Linked DNA regions of Homo sapiens: regions 1, 2 and 3 are each linked to region 4. Evidence: promoter capture Hi-C in 16 types of primary human blood cells and fetal thymus (Javierre and others, 2016). All regions are on one chromosome and are shown on one strand. Each heading gives the region's core, a stretch centred on a gene start or on the middle of the fragment in contact. The rest is flanking DNA. Distances are from core to core; before and after follow the strand shown. Region 1 overlaps BIVM (basic, immunoglobulin-like variable motif containing). Region 2 has its middle 35 kb from the start of ERCC5. Region 3 has its middle 33 kb from the start of TPP2. Region 4 holds the start of METTL21C (methyltransferase 21C, AARS1 lysine).

What was found. The method cuts DNA at HindIII sites, captures the fragments that hold promoters and counts their contacts. A CHiCAGO score of 5 or more calls a contact.
Region 1: a fragment that was not itself captured here is called in contact with the fragment with the promoter of METTL21C in region 4 in 2 of 17 cell types (naive CD4 T cells and total CD8 T cells); the score reaches 5.9 in naive CD4 T cells.
Region 2: a fragment that was not itself captured here is called in contact with the fragment with the promoter of METTL21C in region 4 in 3 of 17 cell types (naive CD8 T cells, naive CD4 T cells and total CD8 T cells); the score reaches 6.5 in naive CD8 T cells.
Region 3: a contact is called between a fragment that was not itself captured here and the fragment with the promoter of METTL21C in region 4, in 1 of 17 cell types (non-activated CD4 T cells). The highest score is 5.6, in non-activated CD4 T cells.

Annotation. Positions count from the first base shown.
Region 1 is chr13:102,821,540-102,824,557 of GRCh38, forward strand. It overlaps BIVM (basic, immunoglobulin-like variable motif containing), which reads left to right. Exons shown (of 11, transcript NM_017693.4): 6 at 204-308; 7 at 526-620. It overlaps BIVM-ERCC5 (BIVM-ERCC5 readthrough), which reads left to right. Exons shown (of 23, transcript NM_001204425.2): 4 at 204-308; 5 at 526-620. Among named protein-coding and RNA genes, the nearest start is that of BIVM-ERCC5, 16 kb to the left of the region's middle. The HindIII fragment of the contact is 2,607 bases long and covers 228-2,834 here.
Region 2 is chr13:102,879,710-102,882,591 of GRCh38, forward strand. It overlaps the pseudogene METTL21EP. Among named protein-coding and RNA genes, the nearest start is that of ERCC5, 35 kb to the left of the region's middle. The HindIII fragment of the contact is 525 bases long and covers 1,297-1,821 here.
Region 3 is chr13:102,562,190-102,565,249 of GRCh38, forward strand. No RefSeq gene overlaps it. Among named protein-coding and RNA genes, the nearest start is that of TPP2, 33 kb to the right of the region's middle. The HindIII fragment of the contact is 4,044 bases long and covers 1-3,060 here.
Region 4 is chr13:102,693,443-102,696,383 of GRCh38, forward strand. It overlaps METTL21C (methyltransferase 21C, AARS1 lysine), which reads right to left and starts at 1,602. Exons shown (of 4, transcript NM_001010977.3): 1 at 927-1,602. The coding sequence starts at 1,056. The HindIII fragment of the contact is 1,740 bases long and covers 798-2,537 here.

The DNA.
Region 1 (3,018 bases), core at 281-2,780, 130 kb after region 4:
TGCAGTGAGCTATGATCACGCCACTGCACTCCAGCCTGGGCCACAGAGTGAGAACCTGTCTCTAAAAAAATAAATAAAATAAAATAATGAAAAATATTACTAATATTATTTGCAAATCAGACAAGCATATTAACATTGAGACAGGCTGTATTTGCGTATGACTGGAATTGAAAAATGAAAGGCAATGAATGTTTCTTTTGTAGCCTTCCACCTATTACCCAAGAAGAAGCTTTACATATTCTGGGCTTTCAACCTCCATTTGAAGATATTAGGTTTGGTCCTTTCACGGGGAATACAACACTTATGAGGTATGAAGACCCTCTTAGAGGCAATATCGTGTTTCTAGTTTTGCAAAATAATAATGATGTAGATGTGTGTTGATAGTAAACCATGTATCCAGCTGCTGGGCTTCAACCTCTCATAGGTATACCAACTTTGGGCTATGCCTGAATTTCTTTAGAATTGGAATAATGCCATCTTTGTTGTAGAATTGTTGCCATGAACAAATCTTCTTGTTACTTTCAGGTGGTTTAGACAAATTAATGACCACTTCCATGTAAAAGGATGCTCTTATGTTCTATATAAGCCTCATGGGAAGAATAAAACAGCAGGAGAAACTGGTAGGTAAACATATAGAAGATTTACATACACACATACACACATGCACACACACACATACACACACACGGTTTAGAGTTCGTCTCAAAGACTGCCTGTTTAGCTTCCTGGGACATTATGTAAACCCTCAGCACAGTCTGTTACTTGCATGTAATCTGTAGGGCACTTTTTAATAAGCAGTTTAATATTTTACCTCTTCTAACCTTTTTATGTAGAACCTTTAGAACTTTAAGGTATATCACAAACACTACTCTAACACATTGTATTGTTTGGGTCCGTGGTGTGTGTGTGTGTTTGTGTGTGTATGTATGTGCGTGTGTACGCGCACATGCTAGTAAAACTCTAAGGAAGCAGCATGGAGTTAGCAGTTTTCTTCCTAAGAAGGAATGTAAGGATTTGAGAATATTTGATGTTAGACCTGTGTGGTGACATATAATGGCAGGAAAATAGACTGTTGAAGTGACAAAGTTCTGCTATAAAATAGTCTTGTTTATAACAGAAATATTAATGGAGTTGATCTCAAGGATTATTTTAGTTATGTGCTAATTAAATAATTTGTACTATTTAGCAATTTCCATTTTTAAAATTGTTACAATCTTTTGACTGTGTAAATCAGAAAATTGTAATACATTGTTAAAGAAAAAATTATTCTGACACTTGTTAATAGGGTGAGAAGACTTTATTTTAAACTTGTGAAAGGCCTATTGTAGTAGGAATGAGAGATCAGGCTCAGCTCTGAATACAGCAAAGACAACAAAGACAACTGGGACTTTATAGCCAAGGGACACAGCGAGGGGTTTGGGGGTGGGATATTACTAAGAGGGTCAAGGGTATGGGGATTCTTGCTAAAGCCTAACAGACTTCTTGCTAAAGGCAGGTCAAGGGCTGAGACATCAGGAGTTGGCAGGGGACGTCCGTAAGGAACTTGATTAGATATTAAGGGTTGTGGGTTCTCTCTAAACTGACTTAGCAGGATTCATGCTAAAACTGGACACAGAAGTCTAAGGTCCAGGCCTGTTTGAGAAGAGGACTCAAGGATTAATCAGGAAGAGAATTGTTATCAATAGAGGGTATATGGTTTACCAAGGTAAAAGACTGAGCACAAAGTCAGATATATTTCTGTTGACCTATATTGGGTATATCAGGTTGGTTACTTGGAGGCAGGCTTGGAGATTACATGTTGCTTTCTACACATACTAGTTTTGTGACCTTGAACAAGTCACTTGCTGAGCCTTGATGTAGACCTTTTATCTTTCTATATTTGTATAGGGTCAGTGTGAGGATAAAAGGAGACATACTTGTAATGTACTTAGCACGCTGTGTTACAGAGTAAGGACTCAGTAAGTGCTAGCATTTATTCCTACTGACTAAATTCTATGCATTCACATGGGGCCTGTCTATCCTTCTGGAAAACACAGCTTTAAATGCTGTGTTGCTATTTATTTCTGTTTCTAGTGAGACTGTCACCACACTACTCTCAGTAAGTGATCAGGCAACGAAAAACTAAGAAAGGATATATTATCCTGTTTGGTAATTTTCTCTTCAGCTGTGTCTAGTTTGCTTTTTATACTGCCTATTGAGTTTGAGTTTTTTAAAAGAGGTTTTCAATCATTTTTATTCTAAAATATGTAGTTCTTTTAAAAATCTGCTTTTAAAAATAACCTCATTCCTTACTCATATTTTCAAACCCTTTTATTTTTTAAATCTATTGAAACTTTTTCCTCTGTATTTGGTGTAATGTAGGAAATGTGTATATATCTGATTTTGCTGTCTCTTGTTTCTTCTGGATCTTATTTGAGGTGTCTTCGTGTGCCATGAAAAGAAAATGCATAATTTGGCATTGTCTTTTATAGTTCTTGAATGTTTACTTCCACAGGATGTGCCAAACCTTTTTCTGGTCCAAAAGATTTTTATGGTCATTCTCCAGTTATTAGAAGGTATAATAATGATTCTGTCAGTTGTGTTCATTAAAAGTTTTATAAAATGTCTGCCAATGACATTTTGCACCCTGTAAACTGAATACATAGCAGTTCAGTGAAAGCAAGTGAGAGGGTAAGGGGTGTCAAGGCACAGTAATTAGCAACCTGAGCTGGCACCACCATGTGGAGTTCCTGCCCCTCTCTCAGGATAGCACATGTGTGACCTGGGACCTTTGGATGTAGGGTTGTATAGTGTAGACAGCATCCACACTCAATCCACAGAATAAATACTAGTAAAGCTTAATTTCTTTTTAAAATATGAGGGTCACTATAAATAAATGTTCTAATATTTTGTTTCTGTGCCCACAAAGGGGGTCATCTTGTATAACCACCTGGATGTGTCGGTACTGAAAATCATTAACCTAGAGGAGCAGTAGTTGGCAAATGTTTTTACATAAAAGGCTTGATAGTAAATATTCTT
Region 2 (2,882 bases), core at 309-2,808, 190 kb after region 4:
GATTTCTGGGTGCAGAGCAATGCTACAGACATTCTAGTATGGTTGTTGGAGTCTAAAGACAGTGTTCCCATGCAGATAGGTGACATGAAAAATATGTAGCGTTCATTTCCTAGAATGTCATAGCCACGGAGTCTTAGAATAACTCTTGGCATCCAAGTTAAAAGCTGGATCACTTCCTCCAAATAGTCTTCACTCACTTCCGGGAGTGGGTTGTATTCACCTTTAGCTCTGTTCACGAGACACTCGTGGGATATTCCTAGCCTTCTGCCCCCTTAGTTACGGGCATTGCCGTCTCACTGCTGTATAACCAGAGGCGTGGGAGCTGCAGCTGTCAGAATCCTAATCCCTTCTGCCTGGACTCGTTACCAGTGGTAGCGAGTGTGTATAGTAGTAAACTGTGCTGCGATGCTAGCCTTTCAGTCACTACCAGAGGTCCCAGCAGCAAAAACAAAAATTGTGGATGATACATTTTAACCTTCTAGAAACTCAGCTAACTCCTTTAGGTATGTCCAGGCTTTCCATTTAAATATCAGCCTTAAGGCAGACATGTCTTTCTTTAATGGAAGAGATCTAAATTGGGAGCAAAACATGTGACCACTTTTGCTATCGTTTTAGCTGTGTAGCCTCAATGACATAATTTAACCTTGGTTTTCCTGATTTGCAAACTGTAGGGAAAATAATGTCTTCTAACTTGCTGAAGTATGCTGTAAAAGAAAATGTGGTGGCTGTAAAATGTGCTTTGGGATTCTCGGAAGAAAGGAGTGCTATATTAATTCATGGTACTGCAATTGTTATTTTACCCCAGATTGAGAAGTAAAATATCAAATCGTTATTTTCTAAAGTTTGAATAACTGTTAAATTTATTCAGATAATCTGCTCTATTCAAGAGGCATAAATAGTTTCTTCAGTTTTAAATATATCGGCTGTGATGGTATGGACTCCTTAAGGTAGACGCTGCTCAAAAGATTATCTGGCAATGAGGCTGTTTGACATTGCATAGGTGCTAATGATGCATTGATGGTAACAAGTGAACTTTCAATGTTTTAATCGCCTCTTAAATTTTAGGATTGCAGTCTTACTAGTCAATATGAAGATGATGCCTTTCTTTGTTACAACTGAGGTAGTCTCTGGTGAAGAATATGTTTTCTTTCTGTAGTAGCTTTTTAAAATTTCTGACTCAGAAGCTTTTGTTCTGATTTTAATTTGTTCTAGATAGTGTTTAGATGGTCTTTCTTAAGTCACGCTTCGTTAATATATGATATTTTAATATAATTTTGTCTGCTGTATTTGAAGTTAAGCTTTATTAAGAAACTATAAAAGCACTCCATACATATTTTGAATTATTACCATTTGATATTTTAATGTATTATCTATCTAGTTTTCAAGAAATAATGAAGAAAACATCAATATATCACCTACCATCATTTCATTACTTGATGGATTCAGAAGCTCAAGAAGGTAAGTCATTTTATGTTTATGTAGCTTACCAATTCTAAGAAGACAAATAACTAATAGAATATAAAGTGTCACCTTTGTAGTATTCATTAATGTCTTAAATGGAGCTGACACTTTTATCAATGGCATATTATGTCTTGGTTTATATTTGTGAGCCTGCAAACATCTTGAATCATGTTTAAGTCTATTACTATACCATGATCTTGATGATATGTTAAAGATACTTTTGACAGATTAAATTAAATATATAGACTTACTAAGCATGTACAGGGTTTTTGATCTTCAAATAAGGAATACATTTTTTTCTCAAGTGCTGTACACTAAATGTATGATGTGATTTCTAAGCAAATTTTATTTCAGATAAGAAGCTTGCAAGAAAGATAAAAATAGTTTTATGTGAAAACTATAAGTTTTTACTGGTGGTTGGATGAAAGGTGAATTTAGGCTATACAGACATCTGTAGCCTGAGTTTATGGTTCCTCTAACTATTTATTAGAGGCAAATACATAATGTAATTTGACCTCTGGATGTAAAGAGATTAAGTTTGAATTCTACTATCAGTGTGGTTATTTGAAATTGAACCATCATTTTTATATAGTCTTAAGTATCAAGCGTGACTTTGCATGGGTTATGTAATATAACTGTCCCCATTGTCTTGAGATCAAAAGTACAGACATACACTCTTGACAGACTAGAAAAATTACCATATTTTTGTAGAGCAGTTGTAATACAAATCTAAATATCTTGATTTCTTTTGTTCTCTCCTTATCTGCACACACTGTAGATGTTTTCTGAACACTATAGTTCTGGTTTTTCTGTTTTTGGCCATTCCAGGTGGCTTCTACCTAGGAGAACACATCTTTAGGCCAAGAAAGCTGGGTGTATGCCCAGTGTTGGCAGCCTACCTGGCTTAAACACAAATAGTTTTACCAAGCGATTCTTGCAAACCTAACCATTTAAGTCGATCACTTAGAGAACCCAGCCATTTAGATGATTTGAATGAAGACGCAATTTCTGTATGGTTTATGAATAAAATTATATCATTATCATTACCATTAGTAACAATTCTTGGTTTCAACTGTGTAGAAGATAATTTGGCAAATTACAAAGGAAGTGGAAGAAGTTCAAGGTAAGGTTGAGACGGAACTAGCATTACAATGTTTTACAACACAAACAAACACACTCTGTAATCATCTATATAGCCAAATGAAGCTTTAAAAATGTGTTCACACACACAGAGCTAAGGGAATTAAGGATGTGCCCTTGGAGCAGATCAGGTGGCATTTAGTTGGAAAGCCATCACCAAGTAGAGGAACACTCAGTTCTCAAGTACTGAAGGATACTGACTTTTCCTGCCCTCTTTTATACTTAGAATCCTGTGCTTGGAAAGGATGGAGCAAACCCATAGCTCAGTGCTCATATTTCAA
Region 3 (3,060 bases), core at 196-2,695, 130 kb before region 4:
TTTTCTGTCTGGATGATCTGCCCAATGCTGAGAGTGGGATGTTGAAGTCCCCAACTATAATTGAATCATAGTCTGTCTCTCCCTTTAGTTCTAGTATTTGCTTTATATATCTGGGTGCTCTGGTGTTGGGTGCATATATATTTACAGTTGTTATATCTTCTTGCTGAATTGATCCCTTTATCATTACATAATGAACTTCTTTATCTCTTTATACAGTTTTGACTTAAAGTCTACATTATGTCAAATAAATATAGCTACTCCTGCTTGCTTTTGGTTTCTGGTTTTTTGAAATATCTTTTTCTATCCTTTTATTTTCAGTCTACATGTTTCTTTATAGGCGAAGTGAGTTTCTTGTAGTACGATATAATTGGGTCATTTTTTTTATCCATTCACCCAGTCTATACCTTTTAAGTGGAAGATTAATTCATTTATATTCAAGATTAGTGTTGATAGATGATAAATTACTCCTGTCATCTTATTGTTTTCTGATTGTTTTATATATCCCTCTTTCCTTTCTTCTTTCTTTTGTGTTTATCATTGTGGTTTTGTGGTTTTCTGGAATTATAAGGGTTTTCTTTCTCTCTATCCCTTGTTTATCTGCTCTATCAGTGAGCTTTATACTTCTGTATGTTTTCATGAAGGTGATATAATCTTTGACTTCAAATGTAGTATTCCCTCGAGCATTTCTTGTAAGGCTGATCTAGCGATAATTAATTCCCTCAGGTTTTGCTTGTCTGGGAAATACTTTATTTCTCCCTCATTTTTGAAGGATAGCTTTGCTAGGTTCTTATATCTGTTTCTGTATTCAATATATTGTAACATGTTGTTTTGGTTAAAGTATATAAAGAACATTCAGATTAACAGAGACAAGTATTTGGAAAAGGTAGGAGTATTTTTAATTATCTTTTCAAATAATTACGGCTATTCTTCTTTGATACTACACCAGAATTCCGTAAGTGATAGTTTAGTAAAAGTTAGTCGCAATGTGGAATCTGAAATCATATTAATGAACCTTTTGTACTCTGTGACATTAAAATCCAATGGTCTTTCTTGCGATTAAAATAGATTTTTTACCTATGTATGATTTTATAACATCATGCATTGGTCATTTGGAATATATTGGTTCACTGAGTTAATTACTTCTTCCAAATGTGGACACATTTTACTTCAAAATATCAAAAAAAAAAAAAGTGTGTCAGTATCACCCCCAGTCTCAGTAAGTGCTGGGAAAGTGTTGAACTCACAGTGACAGACTCAAGTATCTAATTTTATCTTGAAAACTGAAACTTTATGATTGGCAAAAAACTGTCGGTTGTTTTCTTAAAAGTTGCAGGCTCCTAACAGGCAAATAACATGTGAAGGGGGAAGCACATAGCAACTTATATTATGAAAATAGTCTTGACCGCAAGGATCCCCTGAAAGGGTCTTGGACAACCTAAGGAGTCTAAGGATATATTTTGAAACTCACTCTTTTAACTACTTTAAATATTTTAAAGCAGAGAAAGAAAAAACAGGCAAAGAATAGACTAGCTAGAGAACTTACTGTAATACCTATGTGTATCCAACTTCCACAAAATTATAAATTTATTTATCATTTCTATTCTTACTTGAAAACCTTTTCAAGGATGCACTTTAATCCCTTAACTAAGAAGGTAGAATTACCTTTCTTGGGCTTGCAACAGCAGTTGGCCTTATGATATCAAGTACAAGGGCTGAGAGCTTCTTCCAGGATGATTCAATGTGAGCCATTCCCTGAGCAGCTTCTTACAGAAAAATAACTTAGCAGACGTAACTTCTTACACAGCTTTTTGTGATTAAGTTAAGATTCTGCAATATCTATCCAAATCCAACTTATACTTTTACAGTCTGAATTGAGTATACTAAATTCTACACCCTCAAGCTGGAGTTGCAACACTGTAAGACAACAATGTTTTATGAGATTCTATACTTCATATAGCTTATAAACAACTATTCATTAGTCATTATATTGGCAACTAATAGATATGCAACTTAATAGAGCCTTTTTAAAAATAAGAAAATCAATTTAAAGGAAATACTTTATTTTTATATTCCAAAATGAGCATTTTTGGAAAAATCCAAGACATTAGATTTTTGTAATGTTCTCCAAAAAAAGGTTAGAGAATGAAGAAAAACCCACTCATAACTGCATAATACAATAACTAATAACAATTTAAGTATGTCTTTCAAATAATCTTATACACACATTTTTACATAGGAGCAATCATAGTATACATAGATTTTAAAGAATTTTTTTAATTTAGCATTTATCATTAACAATTGTCCCAAAACTTCAAAATTGTTATTTTATCATGACATCAAGTGAATCATTTACTCATTCTCTAATAGCCAGATAGCCAGTTTGTTTCCAATGTTTTACTCTTACAAATAAAATTGTAATAAACACATCAGGCACATAATGAAGAAATGTTTAGGAGCAATGCCAGACAACTGGAAAAAGACTAGTGGAATCTTCGGTACAAGAGGCATTTTGCTACCTGGCGTGCTCACAAGATCACTAGGTTCTAAGTTCAGAGAAATAAGCAAATAGATACCACAGGAGGTAGAGCAGCAAAGAAACCCTGAAAATTAGGTAGCTGACCCAAGCTAGGGCTGCCTGGCCCTGAGCAAGGACACCCAACTAAGGTGGGAAGTGGTACGGGCACTCAGCCCATGCTTTTTCAGCCGAACTATGTGCCATCCAAACTCAGGACTGTATCCTAATTTGTACAAAGACAGCATCCTTTAACCAAGCCCAGTGCCAAGGAAACCACATCTACCCCTACGAGGTGACTTCTTTCACTCAAAAGCTAGAGGAGGGACTGACTGTTATGTAAGATCTGAAACACTAGGGTTGCAAGAGCAGAGTAGAGCCAAGGAAGAGATGGGGGATGGAATTAAAGGCAAATAGATGAGTGTTTATGATGAAGAAACAAAGAGAAGTTCAGACGCCATGGTGGATTGATTTTAAGATAATTGAATATGTGAAAGGACAGAAGGAAGACAGTCAGAAGCAATAAAGTCTCTCTAGGGATAAAACCC
Region 4 (2,941 bases), core at 352-2,851:
TGCCCCACTCTCATCCAGGCCATGCCTGTCCCTCCTTCCAAATGTCACCATCTGGGGACTTATTTTTCTCTAGAGACTAGGAAGAGTAAGTAGGCTGATTTTGAATGGCTCATCATTTCACAGGTAAATAAACTGACAAATATTAAGCTTGACAGCTGCACTTTTCCAATCAACATTGTAAGGAAACATAGACATACACGTATTCTCTCATAAGACCCTGTGAGGTTCTACAACGATAAAGAAACATATGTTTTTGTGCCTGAAATATTTTCATTTATTCTCTGTGCTATTCTGATAGTTTTAGAGAGATCAGATTTTCAGATAAGGTAGAGTTGCATTTTTACGTAAACAATGCAGTAAAAATAGACAACATTCTCATTTATTGGAGTTGGGATACATTTTTTACCACCTTTAATTATGAACACTGTAAATGCTGCATCTTGGCTTTTATTAGATCATTTGTTATGTCTATTATTTATTTACAACTGAATCCATGCCCAGAAATGTAACCCTAAACTGTTACATTGTCCTAACGGGGAAATACAGTTTGATTTATAAAGATTCACTGTATGACAAAGCTACCAAGAATGTATTTTGGTGAAAAGCAGAAATGAACCTAGATTTTTTGTTCTTCTTTTAAGTTCTTGTTACAAAAATACAGCAAGCTTAGATCTATACATAGAAAAAAAACAAATGTGCAAACTTTGATAAGTAATGAAAAACCAGGAATTACTTTTAATAAGTAAATAATGAAAAAACAGGAATTATGTTTATACTTGCAAAACATTTTTCTGCTAAGCTTCATTATAGCAAAAAATCTAATGTTAAAAGGAAATGGAAATTCTTGTCACTGAAATTTACTTGAAGATGTCATCGCCAGGAAAACAACTGAGGAAAACTGTTGAAGTGATGAAGAAGGAGGTTACCTTCTAGGACTCCCCCGGTGCTGTCTTTCTGCGGAGCCCCCTTCTTCTCAGCCTCTAACCAGCCACCCGGGGAGCTGAGTCCTTCCCCCCGGCGCCCAGGCTGCTGCGCGGAGCTCAGACACACGTCCATAGCCGGCTGTCCCAAAGACAGCTGTGCATTGAAAAGCAATCTACAAAAGAACGACTATAATCTACTGACTGACTGTTACTAGTTCAGCACATCTATGATCTACATCGCATGTTCGTAATTAATACAGAATTGGAAATGACTCCTTGTTAGTATGCCCAAAATAATTTTGAATTGTTACACGTATCTTTACCTTATGCAGCAGAAGAGATGTGAGGCTTCTGTGCACTCTTTAATCCCCAGTGTTTTATATAGGTCTACACCTGAAAGGATTAGCATTTGATGAACAAAATCCAGCCAGTGGAAGCCCAAGTTATTTAGGGTAGCATTATCTACCAGTCCTCATAGACACATTACTTTGCTAGAATTCTCTCTCTTTCTCTCTCTCTCTCTCTCTCTCTCTCTCACACACACACACACACACACACACACACGCACAGTCCTAGCAACATTCAATGGAATTCCCTTCAAAAGTTTCAGGAATATCACTGGAACAGAACAGAGGCTGCCCCTGTGGCATCCAGTTGCTGCGATGTGGTTCGAAACGTTAGACTTCCAGTTCACTTTTCAAAGAAGTGGGTGTTGGACAGTTGCACAGACTTGCAAATTTTGTGCTCATTTGCCAAACTCCAGTAGCCACAGGGAGGACATGCCCACCCAGCCTCTGCCTAGGACCCGTATCCAGGCAGCCAGAAAGAACACAAGGATCTACCAAGAGGAAGGGAATGCTTTGGGGAGGAAGAAAGGAGAGCATCTATCCATGAGAAGGGACGGGAGTCAAAGGCTTAACGTTGAATCTGGGGGATTTAGAGCAGAGGGAAGAGGAAATCAGAAAAACTCTTCCAAGAAAAAGTAAGCCATTGTGATTTATTTAACTGAAATAAGGGATAGTCAAAAGGGAAGGAGAAAAATCATGTGCTCATTTGTGAAGCTCAGAAACCCTTAAAATAGAATATAGGTCACACAAAGTAAAGCCTCAGACAAATGGGAATTAAAGAATCACTTGTGATAGGCTACATTCAACCAGGGAGTTGGATGAATGGTGTTTTAACCTGAGTAGATATAAAAGCCCATTTTTGTTTTTGTACCCACCCTCGGTACTCGTTTCTCTGGTGTCACTATTTTGTGTTCTTTATGTCAGTTTCTTTTCACTCAGGATGTTCATCTAGATGTGCTGTGGTCCCATGTAAATCACCTTTCCCACTTTCTTAAATGACTGGGGATAAGCCGGCATTTGTTCCAGCTCTATCGTTCTAATGCTTTCTTATTCCCCAAATGCATCTAGTTCTATGATTGCATTCTGCATCTCTGCAACTTATTTCTTCCAGGTGTCATCAGTCCCTATGAGAAATAGCAAAAAGATAGTCATCAGTACAATTCTACAAAAACCTTTTAAAAACTGATTGCAATGTACGTGAATATATGTGTGTATATTTATATGCATGTAGACACACACATAGACAAACATATGCGTTCATTCTACAAGCTTTAAAATGAAGCAAAGGACGAAGGAAAAAATGTTGATCTCCTTTAATTCTACTATCTAGAGAAAGAAACCTCACCAACTTTTTTTTTTGTATCAACTTCTAGGCTTATTTTTTTTGTATAAACTTTTTTAAAGCTATTTTACTGAAAATGTGACTTGATAGAAACATGTACCTCTTTAACCTAGCATCCTATTAAGAGTTCCTTTTTAGGATGAGTTCATGTCCTTTGCAGGGACATGGATGAAGCTGGAAACCATCATTCTCAGCAAACTAACACAGGAACAGAAAACCAAACACCACATGTTCTCACTCATAAGTGGGAGTCGAACAATGAGAACACATGGACACAGGGAGGGGAACATCACACACCTGGGCCTGTCAGGGGGTGGGGGACTTAGGGG